Linked DNA regions of Homo sapiens: all the other regions are linked to region 3. Evidence: promoter capture Hi-C in 16 types of primary human blood cells and fetal thymus (Javierre and others, 2016). All regions are on one chromosome and are shown on one strand. The core of a region is centred on a gene start or on the middle of the fragment in contact, and the rest is flanking DNA. Distances in the headings are between cores, read along the strand shown. Region 1 has its middle 79 kb from the start of EXTL3-AS1. Region 2 overlaps DCTN6 (dynactin subunit 6). Region 3 holds the start of KIF13B (kinesin family member 13B). Region 4 overlaps SARAF (store-operated calcium entry associated regulatory factor).

Evidence for each region. The method cuts DNA at HindIII sites, captures the fragments that hold promoters and counts their contacts. A CHiCAGO score of 5 or more calls a contact.
Region 1: a fragment that was not itself captured here is called in contact with the fragment with the promoter of KIF13B in region 3 in 2 of 17 cell types (non-activated CD4 T cells and fetal thymus); the score reaches 7.9 in non-activated CD4 T cells.
Region 2: a fragment that was not itself captured here is called in contact with the fragment with the promoter of KIF13B in region 3 in 1 of 17 cell types (fetal thymus); the score reaches 5.3 in fetal thymus.
Region 4: a fragment that was not itself captured here is called in contact with the fragment with the promoter of KIF13B in region 3 in 1 of 17 cell types (naive CD8 T cells); the score reaches 7.2 in naive CD8 T cells.

The regions. Positions count from the first base shown.
Region 1 is chr8:28,619,609-28,626,264 of GRCh38, reverse strand. It overlaps a transcript of EXTL3 not described here. Among named protein-coding and RNA genes, the nearest start is that of EXTL3-AS1, 79 kb to the left of the region's middle. RefSeq lists silencers at 3,508-3,767, 3,689-4,125. The HindIII fragment of the contact is 1,685 bases long and covers 2,387-4,071 here.
Region 2 is chr8:30,162,816-30,169,478 of GRCh38, reverse strand. DCTN6 (dynactin subunit 6) reads right to left here. Exons shown (of 7, transcript NM_006571.4): 2 at 5,304-5,368. Among named protein-coding and RNA genes, the nearest start is that of DCTN6-DT, 9.5 kb to the right of the region's middle. The HindIII fragment of the contact is 5,050 bases long and covers 2,882-6,663 here.
Region 3 is chr8:29,258,173-29,265,060 of GRCh38, reverse strand. It overlaps KIF13B (kinesin family member 13B), which reads left to right and starts at 1,991. Exons shown (of 40, transcript NM_015254.4): 1 at 1,991-2,081. The coding sequence starts at 2,027. RefSeq lists a silencer at 1,784-2,613. The HindIII fragment of the contact is 3,487 bases long and covers 1-3,206 here.
Region 4 is chr8:30,059,775-30,066,614 of GRCh38, reverse strand. It overlaps SARAF (store-operated calcium entry associated regulatory factor), which reads left to right. Exons shown (of 6, transcript NM_016127.6): 5 at 476-627; 6 at 2,702-3,612. The coding sequence ends at 2,727. Among named protein-coding and RNA genes, the nearest start is that of SARAF, 20 kb to the left of the region's middle. The HindIII fragment of the contact is 2,244 bases long and covers 945-3,188 here.

The sequences.
Region 1 (6,656 bases), core at 1,980-4,479, 640 kb after region 3:
TTTAGTCTTATTCTATATCTTTCTAGGCCTCATATTTTGGTACTTTATCTCCACCATTTAAAAAATTTTTTTAGTTTAATTTTTTTTTTTTTTTAGACAGGGTCTCACCCTGTTGCCCAGATTGTAGTGCAATGGTGCAATCTCAGCTCACTGTAACCTCCACCTCCTGGACTCAAGAGATCCTCACACCTCAGCCTCCCAAGTAGCTGAGACAACAGGTGTGCACCACCTCACCTGGCTTTTTTTTTTTTTTTTTTTTTTTTTTTTGGAGAAATGTGGTCTCACTATATTGCCCAAGCTGGTCTCAAACTCCTGGGTTCAAGCAATCCTCCCACCTTGGCCTCCCAAAGTGCTGGGATTATAGGCGTGAGCCACCGTGCCTGGCCTTTACCTCCATGATTTTGTTAATGTTTGTTCCCTCTACCTGGAGCAGTCTCCTCCCACTTCTGGCTAAAACTTAGTCATCCTTTAATACTAATTTCAGGCACTGATTTTTTCAGAGGTCCGATAGCACTACGAGCAGACATCTATCATCATACCAACTGCATAATTATCTCTGGGTTGATTTCCCCAACTAGATCAGCTTCTTAAAGTCAGATGTTAAACTATTTATCTTCATATTCCTAATCCTAAAACTGTGCTAGGGTGTTTATTGAACAAATACATGAATAGGAATAGAGTGATGTTTTTATTATTGGAAACCTGGACAGTTCATGTATGAGTGACTATCTCCTTCAGAATAACTACTTCTATAACCTCACATTACATGACTATTATTTAAAAATTAGTATCATTAGACAATAATTTTGTTTTAAATTGGCACCACAAAGGGGGAAGCCACAGAGGAAATGCTCTGAGTTCCTCTCTATTGTTCTTTCTGCGTTCCTTTTTCCCTTCAAAATAAATGATGTGTTTTAACACAGAGCTACTCATGTCTTTATGGTTCTTCTGAGAGATGTTTCTGTTTCATCAGTGTCTAAGAAATATGCCGGCCCCTACTTCTGAGGTCTTGATGACACAGCCTCCATTTATAGATCCTATGTGCAGTGTTTTCACTAGGAGTGAGCTAAAGCTATGAGTCCAGTCTTGCACTTAGTAGGTAAATAATCTGCAGAAAAAATGAGTAATTGGTGAGTCACTCACCTGTTTGAGTTAACTCCTCTAAGTGCCGGTCTGTAACTGCGGGTCAGTTTTTAAAGTTTACCTCCTTTAGAAGCAAAAAGTATGCCAGCTGTGCCTTTTTGGAAGCATACAGGCATTGGAAGATTGTAAAAAACAGTGGGTCATTTTTTAAATTAACCTAACGTGTGTGTATTCACAGTTGATGCTGGAGATACTTGATCTGCTTATTTTTTTAGTTAGCCCATGAATTTGTATTTAAATTTCTTGATCTGAGTGTCAGTGTCTTTCCATAGGAATCACTTGAGGGTTTGGGTTTACTGATGTTTGCAAACCACTGTGCAAAGTTATTGTCTGAATTTAACATGTTTTTAAACTTCCTTTTAAGCTTCAGATGGTGCCTTCTAGTTCTTATGGTGTCGGTGACTATTAATAACTAGATTTTGGTTTTATCTTTTGGGTTTATTGTCCCTCCAGGGAAGTCAAAATGGTAATCACTAACATATACTAATTTTTTCTTGTTTTTAATCTTTTAAAGATTTGTTTCTTTTTACTCACAATTACAAAATGATTTTTATTTTTTGAGACAGGGTCTCACTCTGTCACCCAGGCTGGGGTGCAGTGGGGTGGTCTCAGTTCACTGCAACCTCTGCCTCCCAGGATCAAGTGATCCTCCCACCTCAGCCTACCAAGTAGCTGAGACCACAGGTGCTCACTACCATGCCGGCTAATTTTTTCATTTTTTGTAGACATGAGGTTTCGCCATGTTGCCCAGCATGGTCTTGAACTCTTGAGCTCAAGCAATCCTCCCACCTCGGCCTCCGGATGTTCTAGGATTACAGGTGTGAGCCACCACACCCGGCCTCACAATGCTTTTAAATGAATATTAACGTGAGATGTGGAATATTGTATGTAATAGGCAATTCATAATTTCACATTTTGAAAAAGAACTGATAATTCCAGAGCAAAGTACTCAGAGTTTGTTAAGGACCAGCAGGAATTTCTGCTTAACAAAATATTTAGAATCCCAACAACTCTGAGACTTATCTCCTTTCCCTGGGGATAGGTAAGGTGAGAACAATTGGAAAGAATTTTCTTCAGTTCTGGGGATGAGGAGAATTTTCTTATTATCTCAAGTCAACAGGTATGACTGTCTAGCAAAAAAGGAATGTGAGTTCATTGCTAGCATTTTAGACTTGGAATGAACAATAAATATAATATTAATAGTTCAACCTTCTCAGAGGCAGAAACGTTTTAAAACCAAGCTTGCCTGATTTCCCATCTGCTGCCTTTTACGAGCAGCAAATTTGTTAAGGAGGATCATGTTTACCTGATGAATATCTTTCAGTTTTCCTAATTATAACCTTTATTACTAAATGCCTAAAGGAGTTCACAAGTAAAATCAACCAATTCGTATTTATGGGAATGAAAATATAGGGGGAAGGTTTTAAATAAAAACATATCTTTAAAAACATGAATTATGTTACATGGGGGATAAGGATCAAAAGACACACGTGCTTTGCCAAGCCTTGAAAAGTAGGCAAAGATGGGGTCTAGACTTTCAGCATGGAGCCTTCAGGACAGGACATGCTTACCAAGGGGTGAGACTGAACGGATGGAGCCCTGCAGGGTGACCCAGAAACAGGCTGAGGACAAACACCAACAAAACTCAGCATTCCGAGCGCCCCCTATTCCCGGGCTTCCAATCTGCCAAACTTAACTTTTGAAAAGCTCAAATTGTGGGATCCCAAATTAAAGTCAGCTGTGCTGAGGGGCTCGCAGGTACGGCTGGCTTTGGGGTCCGCATTCTGTGGTGTCCTCTGGGGTAGGTGTGTTTGGGGCTGCAGGGACTGGAGGGCACCCACGGCACGGGCTTACCCACGGGGACAGCGCCTCCTGACAGCGCGCGAGGCGGGCGCGTGGCAGATGCCGCTTACCCCGTACCCGAGGCAGCAGGGGTCGGGACCCCCGCCCACAGTGTGATACGGACCCCTGCCGACAGCCACACTCTCCCAGTTCTCACAAATTCCCGCCTCTGTAGAAACCCAGCCCAGCCCACCCCGGAGTTCACGTCCACACTCCGAGGCAGGGGACATGGACCGCGAGCTTGCAATCGCCCGCCCCAGACGCCCAGAGCAGGCGCCCCACGTCCGGCCCGCGGGCAGGACGACGGGGCCAGACAAAGAGTTTTAAAATCGATCCCCCGGGTAAAGCCCGGGCTACAGCGAGAAGTGCGAAGCCGTCTCTAAATTTTAGCAGCTCGCCGCTTCTCCCGTTGGCACGACGAAGAAAAGACTTCCCACCCCCGAAAGGGAAGATCCCGAAGAGCCCCTACCTCGCTGCAGCGCCAGGTCCCGCGGTCTCCAGCGGCGGCCACTGCAGCCGGCGACAGCGCCAGCGGCCCGGCCCCGCCCTCTCCACGGTCCCGCCCCCTGAGGCCCCGCCCTCGGCTCACCGCATCCCCGGCCCGGCCGGCCGGCTCCCGGTCCCACCCACTGCCCCCTGGGAGGCTCCCGGCTCCGCCCCCCGAATACCCCGCCCACCGCCCCCTCGGCGGCTCCCGGCCCCGCCCCCTAACGCCCCGCCCACCGCCTCCGCGTCGGCTCCCGGCCCTTTCCTCGGAGGCCCCGCCCTCGCCGGCTCCCGGGCCCGCCTTCTCGCGGCCCCGCAGCTGGGTTCAAGACTGTCGTGCAGGCCCCAGAGCCCGGTGCATTGTGGGACGCCGCAGCCAATGCCGAGCCTGCGCTGCCTCCTGGCGGGCGCCGCTGCAACAACACCAGCACCCGGCTGCACACGGCGGAGGGCTATACGGCACCGGGCGCCTAGCGCAGAGGGCGCCGGTCGCTGGGGTCCGGTAAAACATGAAAATGAGCCGGATGCTTAGAGTGCGGGGCTACCTCCCGCTTAGCGACATAAGGAAACGCGAAAACAGCGTTAAGACTAGGGCAAGCTTTCGAAACTAGGGAAAATCATTACAAAGGATCAAACGAAATGACGTCAAGGGGAGGGAGAAACCTGCACGCGTCGTTTTTATTTCTGGGGAAACCACAGGTCAGCTCAGTCTAGAGAAGAACGGGGTTCTGTGTGACAGGGGCTAAAATTGGAATCCAGAACTCTTCCCGTACATGCCCCGAGGAAAAAGTTTAAATGCAGTTAAAAAATAAATTACACAAAAATGTAGTGAAAAATGAGAATATAACAAATGACTAGTAAGTCGCTATTTAAATAAGAATATGAACATTGTCACTACGTGGAAATATTTCTGTCATGCGATGTTAAGTGACAAACACACACAAGACAGCACGTGGCCAGTGATTTCAACTGTGGCAAATCTGCGTGTCCACAAACAGAAGAAGCAGCTTCCAAGTAGCTTAGAGTTTAATGCGTCTTAAGGTTCTTTATTTTTATTAGATCAGTTTTTAACGTTTCTGAGTGGTTGGGACTAATCCTAATTGTGGATGGCATTGCAATATTTCAGTTTTCCCTCACTGTAAGTAATAATTATAAAAAGTGATCCAGGAAGAAAACATTCTGAGGCGTTAGGGAACTATGACAATTTTGCTTGTCTGCAAACCCTGGTGGGGCACAAATGGAAAAGTACATTTAGCAGGGAGTGTATTGGTTAGCTAGCGCTGCTGTCAGAAAGTGCCATAAGCTAGGGGGCTAAATCAGCAGACGTGTGCTGTCTCACAGTCCTGGACGCTGGAAGCCTGTGTTCAAGGTGTGGGCAGTGTTGGTTCCAGTTCTGATGACTGTGAGGAAAGATTGTTTCAGGCCTCTCTCCTGGGTTGTAGATGGCCAGCTTCATGTACACGTGGCATTTTTCCTGTGTCCAAATATATCCCCCTTTTATAAGAACACCAGTCATATTAGATTTGGGGCCCACCCTACCCTACTCCAGCATGCCCTCATCTTAACTAATTACATCTGCAATCATCTGATTTCCAAATAAGGTCATATTCTGAGGTACTGGGGCTTAGGACTTCAGCCTGTCAGTGGGGAAGGAGGGGGACAATTCAGTGCACACCTGGAGATTCAAAGTGTAATCTTTGGAAAATCACACACACTGAATGACAAAAACAATCATAATTAACAGTAATGTACATGATCTTAAATGTATCAAAAAGCCAACAATGGGCACTGTGGCTCACATCTGAAATCCCAGCACTTTGGGAGGCTGAGAGGGGAGGATCGCTTGAGCTCAGAAGTTAGAGACCAGCCTGGGCAAGATAGCCAGACCCAGTCTCTACAAAAATAAGCAAGTTATCCAGGCATGATGGTGCCCACCATAGCCCCAGCTACTTAGTAGGCTGAGGCAGGAGGATCACTTGAGCCTAGGAGTTCAGGGCTGCAGTGAGCTAATGATTACATCACTGTACTACAGGCTGAGTGATAGAGTGAGACCCTATCTCTTAAAAAAAAGAAAAGAAAACAAAAGAAAAGCTAAACGGTTAAATATAGTCAAACCAAATTGATTACAGTGTTTTTGTTTCTGTTTAACACCTTTCTGGCCTTTCCAGTTTAACTGCGAGATGTTAATGAGCTAAGACAGCCTAGAGGCCATGAAGCCTACATGGGGTATGTAATGTGCCTGGATTCCGGTCCAAATGCCTGAGACCGGTGTAGGGGCAGCATCTCTTGCATTTGAACCTCAGGAACATGAGAGGACAGGGGTTGGCAGTTATGGGAAACAGCATCCCCATTCTTGGATGGCACACACAATCCATCCTGCTGAAGAACTCAGAGCTCTAGTTCAAGTTCCATAGGAGCCTGCAGAATGTGCTTGTGAACTGAGCCCTCTCTCAGTTAGCCTGACCACAGGGGTGAAATGAGAAGTTCTACAATGTTAGGAAGCACTGGCCCTGCCTGCTGAGGTGGTGGGGACCTAGCAGATCTCAGAGAAATGAAGCCCTGCCTGGCACTGTGGGATCAGTTTTTTTCTTGCAGGAGTCTGTCTGCAAGAATCAGAAGCCGGCCAGGCGCGGTGGCTCACACCTGTAATCCCAGCACTTTGGGAGGCCGAGGCGGGCAGATCACTAGGTCAAGAGATCGAGACCATCCTGGTTAACACAGTGAAACCCCGTCTCTACTAAACAGATATAAAAAAATTAGCCGGGCATGGTGGCAGGCGCCTGTAGTCCCAGCTACTCGGGAGGTTGAGGCAGGAGAATGGCGTGAACCCGGGAGGTGGAGCTTTCAGTGAGCCAAGATCGCGCCACTGTACTCCAGCCTGGGAGACAGAGCGAGACTCCGTCTCAAAAAAAAAAAAAAAAAAAAAAAAAAAAAAAAAAAAAAAAAAAGAACCAGAAGCCCTGTCGGCGGTGTACGGATACGGATGACAGCTGGCTCTCCAGAAATAAAAGCGCTAATGTGTGGTGTCTGCAGATGCCTGTGCTGTAATACTGCCACCCTCGCTGATTTCAAGCTCCTGACATGAGGTCACTGAACAAGGAGCTGGGGCCCAGGTGACTGAGTTAACAGGGTCTCAAAGTGGGGAGGCTGCCGGCAGGGAGCTGTATCTGGGAGCACCACGGGGA
Region 2 (6,663 bases), core at 4,157-6,656, 900 kb before region 3:
CTTACTGGCTGATGAATTATTTTTCTAAATGGTTGGCTGGGCTTGGTGCCACATAGCCAGAAAGATATTCCTTGCATCCAATTTCCATTTCCCTGGTAAAGGACACTTTTCCTGTCTATCTTTGCCACAGAAAGCAATCTTTGTGTACATTTCCATTTGTCAATAAATAATTCAAAAGGCCTTAAGCTCTGTTTTTTTGACAACTAAACAATTTTCTTGAACTGTAAGCTGAAGTACCTGTAAGAGTGCTTTATAGGTGATAATTTCTCAAGTCAAAGCCACTGTTCTGCCTTACTGAAAAAGACTGCCGCAATGAAAGGGAGGCTTTTGGTCCGTATTAAAACTCTCCTAGAGAGACTAAGTAAGTGGGACAAAGTGCTTCCAGCACAAAACATTTCCACTGAGCCGAGTTCCGCCTTCACATACTGATGTCCTGACCAAGTTCTGTCCCGGCCTCTCGCCCTGTAATGGACCACGGGACGGTGCTTCAAGGTACCTTTCAGAAATGTTTTCAGCTCTCAAAATAAAGATTTACAGGAAATAATTCATGGGCCATGAATTAAGGCAGACTAACTAAAAATAGGCTTGATGCTATGAAACCTTATTTACCCAAATTATAATTAACAAGAGGGCTGTTACTTTTCCCAAGCTCTGTCTCTGAACAGCCTTGAATAAGGGGGTCAGGCTCCAGCAGAGCTTCAAGTCATAGGGTTTCTGGTTAAGGACCATACTTCCAAGCATCCAGCTAGTTTCTCTGAAAAAACAAATACCTGCTTTTCTAGGAAAACAGATCGGGTTTAAAGTTCCATTAGCCTGAAACTTAGCAAAGGAAAACATTACTTTCTTCCTGAAATATTTCAGAATGGAATAATTTGTAAAAGTATACATGACTAGAAGATGGAAAATTACACAAAACATCCTGAAAAAAATCTATGAATTAAACAACAGTTTATTGCTACTTAACTCAGATAAACTAAGTAAAAACAACAATAAAAGCCCTAAAATGAAAAATAAAGCAGGGTGGGGAGAGTTGTAATCAGATGACTTATCTCCACTCTTTGCTTTTATAATTGTATCTCCCAGGAGCTTTTTAATCTGATGCATTACATCAGAAAAATGAATTAATAGAAGCCAAAAGACTTGAGACATTTTATACCAAATATAACAATGACAAAAATGATTATCTAATTACTAATTCTGAAAAATTCCCATATTATACAGTTGAAGATAAGAAACATACATAACAAAAATGAGACAAGAATTGTAGAAGACAGAACCATGGGTAACTATATAACTCTTCTGAACCTTCATTTTTCCTCATATTTTCCTTAACTTTTAAAATTGAGTTTTTCTCCTCAGTATTTGAGCAAAAATTTTCTTGTTTAGAAACACTGGGTCAAAGTAAATATAACAAGTATTCACTTGGAGGCTGTCTGCTGTGATAAACTTTAAATCGCTAGAGATTTCTTTCCTTAAAAATGTATTACCACTTCTTATGTTATAATCTGTGCTAACTTTGGGAGGCCGAGGAGGGTGGATCATTTGAGGTTAGGAGTTTGAGATCAGCCTGACCAACATGGTGAAACCCTGTCTCTACTAAAAATACAAAAAAATTAGCCAAGTGTGGTGGCACATGCCTGTAATTCTGGCTACTTGGGAGGCTGAGACACAAGAATCGCTTGAACCCAGGAGGTGAAGGTTGCAGTGAGCTGAGATCATACCACTGCACTCCAGCCTGGGCAAGACAGCGAGACTCTGTCTCAAAAAGAAAGAAAGAAAGAAAGAAAATCTGTGTTAAAATGTCATTTTAACCATCAGAATTGTGCACTACCAGCTAGTGGTCAAAAACTAGCTGAAGGGCCAAGAGCAATGACTCACACCTGTAATCCCAGCACTTTAGTAGGCCAAGGCAGGAGGATCAACTGAGGCCAGGAGTTTGAGATCAGCCTGGGCAAAAATACAAAAATTAGCCAGGTGTGGTGGTGCGTCACTGTAGACCTAGCTACTTGGGAGGCTGAGGTGGGAGAATCACTTGAGTGCAGGGGTTCGACACTGTAGTGAGCCATGATCACACTGGTGCGCTCCAGCCTGCCCAACAGAACAAGACCTTGGTTCTAAACAAACAAACAAACTAAAAGGAAAGTAGATTTAAACAATGCACTTCCTTATGTAATTTTTTTTTTTTGAGACAGGGTCTCACACTGTCATCCAGGCTGGAGTACAGTGGTGCAATTATAGCTCACTGAGCCCTCTCAAGTAGCTGGGACTACAGGCATGCGCCACCACATGCAGCTAATTTTTCCCTTCCTACCTCCCTCCCTTCCTTCTGCTAATTTTTCTTTTTTCTCCTTCCTTCCTTCCCTTTCTCTTTCTCTTCCTTTCCTTTCTTCTTTCCTTCTTTCTCTTTCCGTCTCTCTCCCTTCCTTCCTTTCCTCCCTCCCTCCCTTTCCTCTCCTTCTTTCTGTCTCTTTTCCTTCCTTCCTTTCCTTCCTCCCTTCCTTCCTTTCTTCCCTTCCTCCCTCCCTTCCTCTCTCTCTCTTTTTGTCTTTCTTTCTGGTCCCACTATATTTTCCACACTCGTCTTGAACTCTTGAGCTAAAGTGATCCTCCCAACCTCAGCCTCCCAAAGTGCTAGGATTATAGCCATGAGCCACGGCATCCAGCCTGTACTTCCTTAAATAATTTCAACATGTAGGGAAGGTAGGAACATAAGAGGGTTAAAGATGGGGGAGGACCACAATGTAGTGAAAACCAGAGAGAGAAACAGGAAAGTGAATACTGATCCCTGATACCCCTAAAACTCAGTCCTAGGCAGTGGTCCACCAATCACTGGCAGCTACCTTCCTTGCACAGGATAATGCCTTTACAGCCCAGAAAAGCTTCTGCAAAAGATGTTATTTCAAATCTGAAATACATACCCCCCCCACCACATAATGCCTGTGTATATTTATGCCTGCAGATGTATCTATACTATCTACATACCTATCTTATAGTAGACATTATATACTTATTTAAAATGGGGTTGTTGTTGGGCCAGGTGTGATGGCTCACTCCTGTAATCCCAACACTTTGGGAAGCTGAGGCAGGAGGATCGCTTGAGCCCAGGAGTTTAAGACTAGCTTGGCAAAATAGCGAGACCCTGTCTCAAAAAAAAAAAAAGAAAGAAAAAAAAAACCAAAACGGGGTTGTTGTAACATTGGGGGATTTAAAAAAAAAAGAAAAGAAAAAATGTAAAATGGGGAAGAAGTAGAAATGCCAGGGAAAATCTACATAATTAATTACATCACTTCAGTCTTACTTTCCTTCTAACTGAAGAATGCATTGCAAACTACTATAAGGTATTATTCCTAGAATATCATGATGATAGCCACAATTATAATGCAGTAAAATGATGAGTAAAAAGAACACAGAGGAGCATTTTGATAAATATGTGGTCCCAGTCTGCAGTAGAGATTGTAAAAAATTAAAAAACATAACTTTCCTCATTTTGCTTCATAAACACTTCGCAAGTGGTTTAGGTAATACAAAAGACAAAGAGTTACCACGGCACTGAAAAGAAATAATTAAATCAACCAACCTGGCAAATTCTTTTTTCTTTTTTCTTTTTTTTTTTTTCTGAGAAGGAGTTTCGCTCTTGTTGCCCAGGCTGGAGTGCAACGGCGCGATCTCGGCTCACCGCAACCTCTGCCTCCCAGGTTCAAGCAATTGTCCTGCCTCAGCCTCCCGAGTAGCTGGGATTACAGGCATGCACCACCATGCCCAGCTAATTTTGTATTTTTAGTAGTGACGGGGTTTCTCCATGTTGAGGCTGGTCTTGAACTCCTGACCTCATGTGATCCGCCCGCCTCAGCCTCACAAAGTGCTGGGATTACAGGCGTGAGCCACCGTGCCCGTCCTAACCTGGCAAATTCTTAACAATGTTCCATAATACTGGCACAATCTCCACTGGTTTTATAAGACAAGATGCCTAAATTGTTTGGAGGCTTAGATTTTTTTTTGGAAAAAAAAAATGACGTTACAGGGTTTTTTTTTTTTTCATTAAAGAAACTGTTCATTTAAGGAAATAAAGTGTATTTCCTCTCTGAAAGTGTAATAGTTCACTGAACACTTTAGTCTGGTAGCATACAGGTGACATGCGGCTGCTGGTAAGAATGAGCTCACACCAATAAAACTACAAGGGCACCATATCCAGGTAAACCCCAGTTAAAAGAACAGAGTAAAATGTTTGAGGAACTTAGTCAAGTTCACGTAAGTAAAATGTTGGACTTGAACTCTGGCAAGGCTACACTGAGAAGATCTGACAGCGTTAACAGCAAATATTTATTGACAGCTTACTACTCACAATTTTCATGTTTTCTTTCAAGAAACCTAGGAGGTAGATACTACTATTTTGCATGTTATGAAAATTGCTCATTGCCATCCAATATCTCTTCTCCTCTTTTTCCTTGTAATAGAACCCTGATCTCATTAGCGGCTGCAATGCAACCAGCTAAGACTACAACTCCCAAACTCCCTTGCAGCTTGATGTGTCCATGAGATTGTCTTAGCCATGAGACACACAGAGGAGGGTCGTGTGGAACTTTCAGGAAGGCTGTTTAAAGGGAGCTGACTCACAGCTGGAACACATGCCCTTTTGCTTCCACGCCTCCCCTTTCTCATCCAAGATGATGCTTGGTGCTCTAGCCATCACTTCCTGGCCTGCAGGGCCGGAGCTCCATGCTGGACAATCAACCGATCAGCCCTCCATTACTCACCTTGAAACTTTTTATATGAGAGAATAAACCTCTGCAGGTGTAAGCCACCCCTACATGCAGCCGAACCTGATCCTGATACACACAATTATATAGATGGGAAAAACATCAAGGTTAGAGAGGTTAAGTAATATGTTCAAAGTAACCCAGCAAGAAAGGAGCAAGGAGCAGAGTAGCCCAGGTCTGTTGACTCCATGGCCCACGCTCTCCACGAAGCTCCACAAAGGCAGCACCTTTGTCTGCTGTGCTTACTGACGTGTCTCTAGCACTAGCACAGTGCCTGGCACATCGCAGGTACACAACAGATCTCTCTTAAATACATGAATGACTTTGTTATACAGCCTCATTAGTATTTCAGATAGGAGTTTAAACACAGCCTCCATCACACTACATTCTTTCAGAAATTTAAACACATAGGAGAAAATGCATTATTTTGTCAATAAAACTAGGACATCAGTGAAATAAACATGGAAGACGGTATCTAATTGTAAAGCACTAAAATAGATTAAATCACATCAATTCTTGAAAAACAGTAAATAAACTATTTCTTACCGATAGTTACATCTCCTCTGATTTCACTTTCTACACATACAACTGCTCCAGGAGCAATCTTCACACTGTAGCAAGAAAAAGGTAACATTTACCAGGGGTAAGATTAAACATACTGTTGGAGGAGCTACCGTGACATTGTAATGAAAACAAGGTTTAAAAAATGATGGAAAAAAAGGCCAGGCGCAGTGGCTCACGCCTGTAATCCTAGCACTTTGGGAGGCCGAGGTGGGGGGATCACCTGAGGTCAGGAGTTCGACACCAGCCTTACCAACATGAAGAAACCCCATCTCTACTAAAAATACAAAACTAGCCAGGCGTGGTGGCGAGCACCTGTAATCCCAGCTACTTGGGAGGCTGAGGCAGGAGAATCACTTGAACTCGGGAGACAGAGTTTGCAGTGAGCCGAGATCGCGCCATTGCACTCAAGCATGGGCAACAAGAGTGAAACTCTGTCTCAGGAAAAAAAAAAAAAAAAAGATGGAAAAATGGAAAGTCAATGGTAAGAGGGTAAGGTTTTAATACATTATAAATTTTTCAATTGGTATATTGTCCATCATCCCAAATCACATGTGCTAAAACACTTGAGAAGAGTTTTGAATCTTTTCTTTTAATAGCAGCACGTTTCTAAACAACAAAAAGCTGAAAACAACCTAGATATTCATCAGTGGAAGATTAGTTAATAAATTATGGCACATTATGGACTATTACATGGCCATCAAAAAGAATGAATAATCTCTTGTCAAGATTTTGGAATGGCTGAGCACAGTGGCTCACACCTGTAATCCCAGCACTCTGGGAGGCCAAGGAAGGAGAACTGCTTAAGCCCAGGAATTCAAGACCAGCCTGGGCAACATAGTGAGACCTCATCTTTTTTTTTTGAGACAGAGTTTCACTCTTGTTGCCCAGGCTGGAGTGCAATGGCACCATCTCGGCTCACTGCAACCTCTGCCTCCCAGGTTCAAGCAACTCTCCTGCCTCAGCCTCCCTAGTAGCTGGGATTACAGGCATGTGCCACCACACCTGGCTAATTTTGTATTTTTAGTAGAGACGGGGTTTTTTCAGGTTGGTGAGGCTGGTCTCGAACTCCCGACCTCAGGTGATCCACCCACCTCAGCCTCCCAAAGTGCTGAGATTACAGGCATAAGCCACCGTGCCCGGCGACCTCATCTCTTAAAAAAAAAAATATGGAATGATCTCCAAGCTATATTGTTAAAAGTAAAAAAGAGTGAAGTGAGAAAATGGACAGTATGTAATATGCCATTATTTTTGTAAAGGTAGGAAGAAAAAATATACATTCAAACTATTTAACAACCAGCAAGGTAATACTAACTTAGAAATTTAAAATTTACAAATGTTTCTG
Region 3 (6,888 bases), core at 742-3,241:
AGAGCGAGATCCTGTCTCTAAAAAAACCCAAAAAACCTTACTGCCTTAACCACTCTTAAGTGGTTAGGTGGCGTTAAGTACATTTACATTGTTGTGCAACCATCACCACCATTCATTTCCGCAGCTGAAATCTTCCCAAGCCGAATCTCTGCACCCATTGAATACTAACTCCTCATACCCCCTTCTCCTAGCCCTTAGTAACCTCCAGTCTACTTTCTATCTCCATGAATTTGACTACCATGTGTATCTCATATATGTAGAACCATGCAGTGGTTGTTCTTTTGTGTCTGGCTTATTTCACCTAGCATAATGTTTTCAAGGCCCATCATCCATGTTGCAGCATGTTTCAGAATTTCCTTTCTTTTAAAGGTATTTTTAGACCGGACACAGTGGCTTATGCCTGTAATCCCAGCACTTTGGGAGACTGAGGTGGGTGGATCACCTGAGGTCAGGAGTTCGAGACCAGCCTGGTCAACATGGCAAAACTACGTCTCTACTAAAAATATGAAAATTAGCCAGGATTGGTGGCACATGCCTGTAATCCCAGCTACTGTCGAGGTTGAGGCATGAGAGTCGCTTGAAGCCAGGAGGTGGAGGTTGCAGTGAGCCGAGATCATGCCACTGTACTCCAGCCTGGGTGACAGAGCTAGATCCATCTCAAAAAAAAAAAAGTATTTTTATACTTTTTGACAACATTGCTTGTATTGAAGATACTCAATAACAGGATGGTTGGTAAAAGGGCAAGTCTTACCAGCTTTCTGTATTTACTCATCTGTAAAATGGTTCTGAGTTCTATTACTATCATTTAAACACATCTAAGCAGGGGTCACAAACCCACAAGGTCCAGGCGCATGTGTGGTAAAGCCACCTGGAGGGGGGCCGTGGTGAAGTGGAGAGACGGGTCTCTGATAAAGGTGGCTGCTGCTATTTAGTTCCAATCCACTCTGTCCAATATGTAATGTAGGCCCAGTACTGCATGCACAAATCTGATTTCACACTCTGTTACCCAAGCTGGTCTCAAACTCCTGGCCTCAAGCAATCCTCCTGCCTCAGCATCCTAAAATGCTGGGATTCCAGGTGTGAGCCCCTGCACCTGGCCACAAATCTGATTTTTATGTGTTGGCCAACACTGTTGGGCCAAACAGAACATGTTTGCGTGCTGGCTCTGGCACCCAGGCCACCTGTTAGAATGTCTGCCAGGGCTAATAAAAAGCTAATTTTAGTGTGGCCTCATTCATTAATTCATGCAATTAATGTTTATGGGTCTCTACTAAAGGCTAGGTTACACATATGTTAATCTTATTTAAAAATGTACCTATTTTACTAGGTATTAGTATCATATCCACTTTTCATATTAAAGACAAGCCCAGAGCGGTCAAATAACTTGCCCCTGGTCACACAGTGGGAAGCGCTGAGGTGGGCTTTGAACTCAGATGGTTTTCAGAGCCCAAGGTCCTGTCTCAAAGGAGGGGGACTCACAGGACAATGTTAACCCGTGGACCTATGGACACTCCCAGAAAACGTGATTTGCAACTTGTCGTGAAGGACGAGCTCAGCAAACAAGGCCGGACGTCAATCCAGGCAGAGGAAATAACTTGAGCCAGGGATCAAACACTAAGATTGGCAGGAAATGAGCAGGAAGAGGTAGCGGGGTCCCTGACGCCATCTATTCAATTGTTTTTCAGAAGAGGTATCAGCTCTTGAAGGCTTACTTCTCAATACTGGCTGCGAGAGCAAGAATGGTGTGTAATTTACAAAAGCCGTCATTGCTGTAGGTAAGTTGTAGCAAACGACTCGCGCCCGAGCATTCCCGCCCCCGCCTTCGCTGCGGCCCCGCCCACGACGACCCTGGGGAACTACAAGTCCCGCCATACAGCGGGGAGCGCCCGGAGCTCGCGCCGGCCCCGCCCCCAGCCCGGTCCCCACCCCCGGCTCCGCCCCCGGCCCCCTCCCGCCGGGTCAACCCCGAAGAGTCGCCGGTGGCCGCGGCAGACGGAAGCCGAACGAGTTCCTCGGCGGCTGCAGGATGGGGGACTCCAAAGTGAAAGTGGCGGTGCGGATACGACCCATGAACCGGCGAGGTGAGAGCCGAGCCCTCCTGGGCCGCCGGGGCGGAGGCGGCAGGTGCCTGGCGCGCCCTTCCCTCGGCCGCCGTGGGGGGTCCGGCGGCCCCGCCCCTATAGTCAGCGGCGGGGCGCGAGGAGGGGCCCGGGGACCCTGAAACCCGCTCCCGCGCTGAGACGCCCGGCTCCCTCTTCTCCCCTCCCTTCCCCCCTGGCCAGCCCCGTCCCTGGCGCCGTCGGGCCCCTCGTGCCGGCCCCGCTGCCCCTTCCGCCTGCGCCCGCCCCGCCCCTGCGCCCTTTTGCCCTCTCGTCTCCCCCGGAGGTTCCCGAGGGCGCCCTCGGCCCTCGCGCCCAGCCTCGTCCTGGCCCCTCAGCCTCGCTCCTTCCCCGCCAGCTGTCATCGTCGCCCCCGCGCGCGGGTCGCCAGCCCCTGCAGCCCGCCTCGGGACCGCCCGGGACCCCCCGGGACCCCGCGTCTCGCCCGGGTCGCCCAAGCCTGCACCGCCTTGGCCCGCGGCGGGAAGAAGGGCAGGGGGCCAGGCGGGTGCCCCGCGGCGAGTTCCTTCCACCTGGGCGTCCTGAGATTGGGGTCAGGTGGAGGAGATGCCCTTTTCGTTGTTTTTGGACAGTTGAGAAAGTTTTGGTTTTGCCTGAAGTCTCATTCATCATCTCTCAATAAATAGCTAAAGTGCCAAGATTCTTGTGGAATTGTATCTTTCTGACATTCTCTTAACTCTGCAGGGAGTGTAGAGAAGGCAGATAAACCGAGTACATTTAAATAATCTGTAGACCCGGGGAGTGGAGAGAACCCCAAAAGTCAGGGGAGGAGGTGGGCTGGGTCTTGGCTTTGATAGTCAAAGCAGCATGACTGGGTGAGTTGCTTTAAATAAGATAATGTGTTTGAAAACGCTTTATATACAAGGTCCTGTCATTGGGGGTCACTATTACTGTCTCAGGAGATGACTTTGCCATTGATGAGACTTTGAACTAATTAGAATCATTTAAGTACCAGAGACAAAGTTGTAGCTTCTTAGCAAAATCAAGTGTTGTTTAATTTTTATGTAGAAATTATAGGTTGTTTTCCTCTTCTTTGCTTTCTTTTGTATATATTGAGACATACAGATCAACCAGTTGACATAAGCTTTGTTGGTTTGTCCTTCTCGGGGAAATTGGTTTCTCGCTTGGAGTTATCTCATCTATGGGAATTGTTTTGTCCTGTTCCTGCTAGGTCCGATTAAAGCTGTCAGGTGAGTTTTTTTCCCTAAGAACTTAATTACTTTAAGTTCTCAACTAGTGCAAGATTGAGTCCTGCTTTGCTTCACTAATCTCGTGCTCTGACAACACACAATAAACGTCGATACAATTCTGAAAATTTTCAGAAGCATCAGTTTTTAAATATTCAGGTATCTGTATTTCAGTTTACTTCCAGTTTACCATCACAATAATTTAAAGAAAGAAGCCAAATGAAACATAACTTATCTGGGAATTGATTCTGAAAGGATGGTTTCAGCACATTCTTAAAATTTCCTTTTCACAAAAAACTTGGAAATGTCAGTGCTAAAAAGAGGCCGCTAACCAACCACCACAAAAGACATCTCAGATATTTAGAGCCCTTTCCCTCTCCCTTTCCCCATTGGTTTCACTTTTTGAGGGAAATTCTTATGCTTTTCTCTTATAAATTGCCATTGATAAGGTTGTAATAAACATCAGAGTTTAGAGGAAGGCAAAGAATAATAGTTTTAGCTGTGGAACGGATGTGAGCTGATCCTTGGGTTCAACAATCATTTTGAAATTGAGGTTTACCCATAGATTCCATTAGCCTATATAGAGAAGTGCATTATTTGGTGTAAAGTACCTCCTGTGTTCACTTAGTGCCCATTCTTAGCCTTATATTTCCTGACGTGCATGTGGACTTCTTTTTTCAGTGATTACCACACATAAATTTGTTCTTTTCCATTTTTGTTATGAAGTAATTGTTCACATAAATATAAAGGTTATTATGGAATACAGTGTGGTGGGATTGTAAATCCAGTGATTTTTAAAAATTGGTGTCCAAAGTTTGTATAAAAAGACTAAAACAGGCCAGGCACGGTGGCTTACGCTTATAATCCCAGCACTTTGGGAGGCCGAGGCGGGTGGATCACCTGAGGTCAGGAGTTCGAGACCAGCCTGCCTAACATGGCAAAACCCTGTCTCTACTAAAAATACAAAAAATTAGCCGGGCGTGGTGGTGGACGCCTGTAATCCCAGCTACTAAGGAGGCTGAGGCGGGAGAATAGCCTGAACCCAGGAGGCGGAGGTTGCAGTGAGCCAAGATCGTGCCACTGTGCTCCACCCTGGGCGACAAGAGTGAAACTCTGTCTCAAAAAAAAAAAAGACTAAAACAAAACCATATTTCTTTCCAGTAATTTCCTTTTTTTTCTTCCTTGTATGATCTGTAGGAACCTTTCCAGTAATTTTGAAAAGAATATTACTTTGAACAGTTATTAGTATTATGTAATACTGTATAATTATGACAAAGAGTAAAACTTGAGTCCTAATAGTTTCTATCATATAGGTGCCGGAAGCAACCTTATAAATCGCTATCTATAAAAGAGGACGGGGATGAGAATGGGTTACTGTGATGATGTAGTTTTACTGTGTAGACTCTGATATTTGGAATCACATTAGCTATCTTTTGAGGAAAATCTGAAAATTTCCAGAAAACTCTGGTGTATTAAGTTCTTGTGTGATTCAGTGGTTGTGCTTAGGTGTTTGGAGTTTTAAGGTGGTTAGCTGATTTATTATTTAACAGTTATCCTCGAAGTGAGAGTATTTTAGTCTTTCTGCTAAACTGTATGTGGGTTTGGGAACCTTAGTTATTTGAAGGTTAAGCATTAGGCCCTAATTCAGTAACAGGAAGAGTTGTAATGGCTAATTTGTCAGAAATATTTGTCTAGTCATACATTTATTTTAACATTCCACTAACAAAAGGAAAAAGAAAAAGAAAAAAGTTCACATACTTTCTTCATCCTAACAGCTTTTCATTTCCATGCCAGTTTGTGCTCACACGTGTATGTAATTTTACATAATTTTAATATTACAACCTTTATTTTGCCTTTCTTCATCTGAGATGCAAAGCTAAACAACTAGAGAAAAGGGTAAATTTTTGTCACAAGATCTTCAAGTTCTATTTGCAGATATCGTTTGTTTTCCAGTGTTGTTGTTCAGACTGTACAGCTAAACAGATAATTCTTGTGTGCTTCCATGTGCCGCACAGAACACCCATTCATACATTATTAACCCGTCTAATCATTACAGGAGCTGAAAGTTCTGTAGCCGTAATTGGTGGGATTAGTTAGATCAGCAACATTCTCCTTTCCAGGAATTTGATGTTTTCTAACTTTAGGTGGCTTAAAAAACATTTAATAGGTAAGCAAACATTGATTGAGTGCCTGCCAGGTATCTGGCTTATATTAGATAGGATGAGATCTTAATGCTTTTCCTCAAGGGATTTCCTGTGTGTAAATCTGTATAAGATCAACTACCAAAATAAGTAAATATCTATAAAAGGTGTTTGGAATACCTTTGTTACCTACCTAGCCTAAGGGGGTAGAACCGGGAAACGAAAGAAATGAAGATAGAAACAGTGAAATAGATTATTTCAGGTGTTAGGGAGAATGGACAAGAAATTTATTTCAGGAGATATTTCAAATGAGTTTACTTGGCATTTTCCAATACTTGATGTGGTGAAAGACACAGAAGTATGTAATAATGTCTAATAGAGTCAATGTAGAGTCAGTGCCTTGGTAATCATGATCTAGTATCTCAATGGAGGGACTATTATACAGCGATTAAAATGATGACAGTCAAAACCATTTAACAAGGAAGATCGTTTTCTCTGTTAGTGGAAAAAGAATGTAAAGCTGTACGTGTAACTGATCAAATCTATTATTATTACTATGTAAAAATGTATACAGGAATGGGCAAGAGCTAGAAAGAAACATGAAAAAGTGAAATTGATTGTTCTTGTTAGGGGGATTTTACTTCCTAAAAGTTTTCTTAGGGTTGCCTGTTACCATCATATTCAGTTTCTTAAAGCATGCTTTATGGTTCATGCCTGTGAGGAAATGACTGTCATGGGCTTGAAAAGAAAATGCCTGTGAAAAGATTAGATTAAAAGGTAAACAGCTGTAGCAGGCTGCTAGTTACTAAGTGCCAGGTGAATGACAGGGAAATAAGGGAATCGAGAGGAGTTTAGACTTCACTGAGGAGGGTGAACTTTGGTTGGACTTCCAGGGAGGAAGCTTATGATGTGAGCACGGGAGAGGGGATGGCATGTATTCTTTGAGGAGGAAGTATGGCCTGAGAGTGAGGACACAGAGACTAGAATGAGTAAAGCAGGTTTAGGCAGCAGAGATGAGATCTGCCTGCCAGAATGGAGATTCTGTGAGGATAGCTAGAGAATGATGGGACAGGAAAGGTCAGGTGGATTGCAGGAAGCCCTGAAAGCAGCCAGGCCAGAAGTCCGGACCTAGGGTGGCTGGTCCACGCACTCTGTTTTGCTTCTTGGGACCTTGTATGGGGCTTGGACACAAACACAACGGGGAAAGATTGCTAGATCCCAAAGCAAGATTGGAAGCTTCAGTAGATGACCGATTTCTGGCATAGCTGGGCAGGATTTAAAAGCGCTTGCTGAAAATGAAGCCTTGTGAATGGGAAGCATAAGGAAGTCGGTCAAAATTAAGCAGCTGTGAATCAACAGGCAAAGGAAAAACCCAGCAAGTGCGAGGAAGCTTAGAAGATGCTGGTAGTCAGTGAAGATAGAGGTGACCCTTAGGAAATG
Region 4 (6,840 bases), core at 817-3,316, 800 kb before region 3:
TCAGTATTGTGTATGTTATTTTCTTTCACTGTGTTTCTTCCTGTGTCACCTTCATATATATTATGAGATAAGAAAAAGACTGTTTAGTTGACATCTGAGAAAATAAGAAGGCAGGAAAGAAGACAGCATTTGGGGAACAGTCTGGTTTGGTAGGAGAATGATAAAAATAAGGCTGGAAAGAGCTTGGGGCCAGATTTTGGAATATGAAGTATTAATGGTAGTTTAAGTTTAGATTTTATTCGAGTGCAAATTCAGAAAGAGCATTGACTCCCTGTCACTTTTCCCCCATAGCAGTGACCATAATAATGGCAGAAATATGAAACGGTTTTTATTTCATGTTAACTCTGATATACCAGAACATTCAGGAAAAAATACTTGATAAAGATATTTTTTTCTGACAGTTTAGGAACAGGAAGGTATTTAAAAATTATAGCCACAAGAAAAAAATGCCTAACCTACTTTTATCCCTTTAAAGAGCGGCAACACCCTTCTCAGACTCGTGGTACTACCCGTCCTATCCTCCCTCCTACCCTGGCACGTGGAATAGGGCTTACTCACCCCTTCATGGAGGCTCGGGCAGCTATTCGGTATGTTCAAACTCAGACACGAAAACCAGAACTGCATCAGGTAAGAGCAAAAAATACAAGTTCCTTTTACCTAGGAGTAAAGTACAGAAATAGTTTGGGAACTTTAGAAGATGATTATCTGTTTAGCAACCATGGTTTTATTTGGTGTACCTACCAAAAATATTAATAGCACAGTTAACTGAGATCCCACTTTTAAACATTCTTTAAAAATCAAACAGGGATTTGATTTAGGCTTAGCTCTACCATAGACCAAGGTTTTAACTTGAACCTTACTGGGTGCTAGCTTCCCCATATATTTAATTCTGTGATCTCTAGAGATCCTTTAAGTTCTAAACTAGACTTTTCTAAGTAGAAGCTTAAACTTAAAATTCAATAACATTCAAAAAAGATATTGAGGTATACTTTAATTTTCAAAAATATGATTGTAATGTTTATTGGAATGCTCAGAGGATATTTTGTAAAAAGCAAAGATACAAAAAAAACAAAGGAATAACTGGATTAAGCATCAAGCCTAATTGGGAGCTGCTGGGTAAGGAGGCCATGAGAGATTGCTCTGGAGTAGCTTTGTCTTTCAGGAAAAGGAAGTTATAGAACAATGATTAATTCTTGAAATTGATAGAAAAATATATTTAAATATGTTTTAAAATGTGAGTAGAATTCTCATAATGCTGGTTTGGATATATATTGATACATTCAATTAAAAAAACTGGTACTACCTCCTAAAATTGAACCTATGCATACTTCCAAAGGACAGAGCAGTTTTGCTCTCAGATATATCGCCACAGAAATGCATACACTTGTGTGCTGGCAGATAAGCACAAGACTGTTCATAGCATCCCTATTCATAATTGCCCAAAACTGGAAACAGCCCACGTATCCATCAGCAGTAAAATGGATGAATAAATTGAGTTATGTTTGCTGTATTGCAGTGGGTTACTGTGCAACTAAGAATAAGTAGTTGTGTGCAATAACATGGATAGATCTACCAAATATAAAGAAGCCAGACACAAAATAATATATACACTATGATGATAGCAGTTACATTTTATAAAATACACATGCAAAAACAGGCAAAACTAATTTATGGTGTTAGAGTATGAGATAGTAGGTACTTCTGGGAAGAAAAAAAGGAGTTGGGAGAATATATAAAAATATGACTAGGTAAGGCCAGGCACGGTGGCTCACACCTGTAATACCAGCACTTTGGGAAGCTGAGATGGGTGGATCACCTGAGGTCAGGAGTTCGAGACTAGCCTGCCCAACATGGTGAAACCCCATGTCTGCTAAAAATACAAAAATTAGCTGGGTGTAGTGGCACATGCCTGTAATCCCAGCTATTTGGGAGGGTGAGGCAGGAGAATCGCTTGAACGCGGGAGGCAGAAGTTGCAGTGAGCCGAGATTGCACCATTGCACTCCAGCCTGGGCAACAAGAGCAAAACTCTGTCTCAAAAAAAAAAAAAAAAAATATATATATATATATATATATATATATGGCTAGGTAAGACATCATGACAGAAAAATATTCATTCTCAGTGGAAAGAAGACTTGCATAAAATCATGACTATGAACTAGAAATGTATGGGAATTATATGAAAGAAAATCATAAAAACCAAATAATGTAAACCTGAAAATAATTGAGAGACTTTCTAGATAGGAAGATTTGTCATCCTGTAGCCTGTGTGTGTGCGCACAGTGTCTTAAGTAACGTTTAAGCATCTAAAGTCCGTAACCCTCCCCACATTACGTCTCTTACCACTGGAGTTGTGAGAGGTAGCAGGGCATGGCTTATGCGCCACTGGCCTCTGTCTTTTTGGCTTAGACTTTGAGTATTGCCTGTACCATGGTGGCCCCACTATAGAATGCATTCTCTTTTTTGGGGTCCTAACTGTCATTCCCAGCAACCATGTGTGAGTGTAGTAGGCTTGATGATTGGGAAGGTTGCTGTGGGAGGCGATGCACTGTCCTGCTTAGCCCAGTTCCACCTAGTGGCACACTCTTTCCTTTCCTCCTATCTCATTCATTTGCTGACAATAAACATGTATGACTTGTAATTTTATAAGCAATTCTAATGCATTTTTAAAAACTAATGTAAATTTTACCCCTCTCATTCTAGGATATGGTGGTACCAGGAGACGATAAAGTAGAAAGTTGGAGTCAAACACTGGATGCAGAAATTTTGGATTTTTCATCACTTTCTCTTTAGAAAAAAAGTACTACCTGTTAACAATTGGGAAAAGGGGATATTCAAAAGTTCTGTGGTGTTATGTCCAGTGTAGCTTTTTGTATTCTATTATTTGAGGCTAAAAGTTGATGTGTGACAAAATACTTATGTGTTGTATGTCAGTGTAACATGCAGATGTATATTGCAGTTTTTGAAAGTGATCATTACTGTGGAATGCTAAAAATACATTAATTTCTAAAACCTGTGATGCCCTAAGAAGCATTAAGAATGAAGGTGTTGTACTAATAGAAACTAAGTACAGAAAATTTCAGTTTTAGGTGGTTGTAGCTGATGAGTTATTACCTCATAGAGACTATAATATTCTATTTGGTATTATATTATTTGATGTTTGCTGTTCTTCAAACATTTAAATCAAGCTTTGGACTAATTATGCTAATTTGTGAGTTCTGATCACTTTTGAGCTCTGAAGCTTTGAATCATTCAGTGGTGGAGATGGCCTTCTGGTAACTGAATATTACCTTCTGTAGGAAAAGGTAGAAAATAAGCATCTAGAAGGTTGTTGTGAATGACTCTGTGCTGGCAAAAATGCTTGAAACCTCTATATTTCTTTCGTTCATAAGAGGTAAAGGTCAAATTTTTCAACAAAAGTCTTTTAATAACAAAAGCATGCAGTTCTCTGTGAAATCTCAAATATTGTTGTAATAGTCTGTTTCAATCTTAAAAAGAATCAATAAAAACAAACAAGGGGTTTAGTCTCATTCTTTCTATTAGCCTAGGCGCAAATAAATGTTACTTTTTGTTTTTTTAAACCCTTTTTCCCAAAGGGGAAAGTTCATGCAGAAGTTCTGTCTCCCTAAACAGTAATTTTATGTGGTAGTCGTACCTTAGTCTTTTGGTAAATGTTTTCAAAAAGTAATTTACAAATGGTGTGGAAGCCTCTGCCAAAAAATAGCGTTTGAAAAAAATAATTAAATCTCCAAGCCTCCCAACCCATCAGAGATTGCATGGTTACACTTAGTTAAGCTTCATAACCTCAAAGCCCCAGTTTTATATCTTATGTGTTTAATGATTTTTGCCATTTAAAACTGCAGTTACTTTTCACCAACCAATAAGAACCAATTTAAAACAAACCCTTATTAAGACTATTGCATAATAAAACTATCCTCTTTTCATCAGTAAAACAGTAGAAATTTTAACTGATAGAAGAAACACAGCTTTACTTTATGTATATCCCACTAAATCCTTACCCCATTTCTCCTTAGTAGAAGGATATGGAATAAAAGAGAATGTAGTTTGTTGCTTTTTTTTTTTTTTTGAGACAGAGTCTCTCGTTCTGTCACCAGGCTGGAGTGCAGTGGCATGATCTCGGCTCACTGCAACCTCCTCCTCCTGGGTTCAAGCAATTCTCCTGCCTCAGCCTCCTGAGTAGTTGGGATTACAGGCTCCTGTCACCAAGCCCAGCTAAGTTTTTGTATTTTTAGTAGAGATGGGGTTTCACTGTGTTGGCCAGGCTGGTCTCGAACTCCTGACCTCAGGTGTTCCACCTGCCTCAGCCTCCCAAAGTGCTGGGATTACACACGTGAGCCACCGCGCCCGGCTTACTCAGATTGTTTTTGAACATAGTACTGCAGATCATTGGGATTGTAAGAAAATAATGAGTTAATGTAAAGAGAGTTGACTGTTCTTCCTGTAGGCGATAGCTTTAAAAAAAAAGAGTTGACTTGGTGGCTTTTAGATTACTCTGGGGAGCCCTAGTGGTGTTCTTATGAGGTTCTTTAGAGGGTCCCTGGAGGGAAGGGAGGAAAAGAGGCAGAGTATAGGTTTCAAGCCCCACCTGAGTGTTCCTCTTTTATCTGTTGTGTATTTGTACTTCCTTGTCATTTAAGAACTTTTTTTTTTTTTTTTTTTTTTTGGTAGAGATGGTGTTTCACTATGTTGCTCAGGCTAGTTTCGAACTCCTGGCCTCAAACAGTCCTCCCACCATGGCCTCCCCAAGTGCTGGGATTACAGGCATGAACCACTACTCCCGGCCCTTTGTTGTCTATGGAAAAGGTTCACATGTATCACTTCCCCAAATGTAAAACTTAGAATAATAAGATAGTACAGTCTAAGGCAGGAGGATTGCTTAAGTCCAGGAGTTCGAGACAAGCCTGGGCAACATAGCAAGATTTCATCTCTACAGATTATTATTTTAATTAGCTGGGCATGGTGGTATGCACCTGTAGTCCTGGCTACTCCAGAGGCTAAGGTGGGAGGATCACTTGAGCTCGGGAGATTAAGGCTGCAGTGAGCTGTGATTTTGCCATTGCATTCCAGCCTGGGCAACAGGGTGAGACCTTGTCTCTTAAAAAAATAAGGTGAGAGCATTGATTGAGAAGCAGTGGGATCCTGAAAAGTGGAATGGGGACATAAGAAAGGATCCTGATGAAGCCAGTGAAATGGAACCCCTAAATTCTGCGTAGTATTTCTTGCCGGTAGAAGCAGCCCTTCTACTTCTGTCTGAGAAGGTTAATCCTACTTTGCCTGAAGGATCTGTAATGGTCTCTTCAGAGGTGTTCGTTACCAGGCATCACTCATCTGCCTCAGGGTCTGCCCTTGCTACCTGCTTTGCTCCTAGATGTACAGCTAGACTCACGTTCCAGTAGGCACCAAAGAGTGAGGTACAAATTATGATCCATGAGGAGGTACCCTGCACACCAAAAGGACTCCATGATTTTCCCAGTCTATACAGATAGAAATCTGGGGAATATGTGTGGGAATGGATCTTAGAGTGTAGGATATGGTGGTAGGACTGTAAAGTTCAGTCAGGACAACTTTATTGATATTGGCCCACTCAGCAGAGATTCTGGATTCAATATTTGAGAGGTTAGAAAGGACTCTTAACAGTTTAGTTGGTTTGCTGAACATGGACTCGAAGATGGCCTACACTAAAGTCAAAATGCCAGAACTGCCTCAGTGTACTGTGGAGGAAGGGATTCAAAGGCTCAGGGAGATTGGAATGTTAGGGTGGATTTATCATATAAGCCCCACCCACCCACCCTGGAGGAGTCAAGAGAATACACTTTTCACCATGATGGTGAGAAATAGATTTTTGAGAAGGAGGCCCACAAATTTGGTTTCTCTTCTTTGTAGGTCAGAATGTACAGTGGGAACTGCTACCATCAAACTGGGACCCCTAGAGGCAGTGGGGTTAATTTGATCCCAGGGTAGCAGGGGCCAAATGGTGACAATCAGCAAAGATAGCGTGGCATGGTTATGCTGTAATGGGCAGCAGAGTCAAAGCAGCCATCAGAATTGTTGGACTCAGGCCAGGAACACTGGCACATGACTGTAATCCCAGAACTTTGGGAGGCAGAGGCAGGAGGATTGCTTGAGGCCAGGAGTTTGAGACCAGCCTGGGCAATATAGTGAGACTCTATCTCTACAAAAAATTTTATGAAACAAAAATTAACAAGAATTGTCTGACTCAGAGACCTATGGCATTGGCTGGTTGATCATTGTGTACCTATGGAAGAAATAGATGGCAGTCTACTAAATTCTTATTTGATTTATGTATGTGGAAGAGTTCTAGGCTGAGTAAACGGAAGTCTTTTTTTTTTTTTTTTTTTTTTTTTTGAGACCAAGTCTCACTCTGTCACCCAGGCTGGAGAGAGCAGGGGCATGATCTCGGCTCACTGCAACCTCTGCCTCCCAGGTTCAAGCAATTCTCCTGCCTCACCCTCCCGAGTAGCTGGGATTACAGGCGCCTGCCACCATGCCTGGCTAATTTTTGTATTTTTAGTAGAGACAGGGTTTCACCAAGTTGGCCAGGCTGGTCTCAAACTCCTGACCTCAGGTGATCCGCCCGCCTCGGCCTCCCAAAGTGCTGGGATTATAGGTGTGAGCCACTGTGCCCAGCCAACAGAAGTCTATCTTAAGTCACCACAAGTGAGTCATAGCCTCTGAATCATTTCCTAGACTTGAGCTGGTTTATAGCTCCAGAATCCCTTCAATGAAGGAGAGGCTGGGTTCCCCTTGAGGAAGAACCCTACCACATTGCCAGGTTTATATTGTTTATCTTTCCCCCAGTC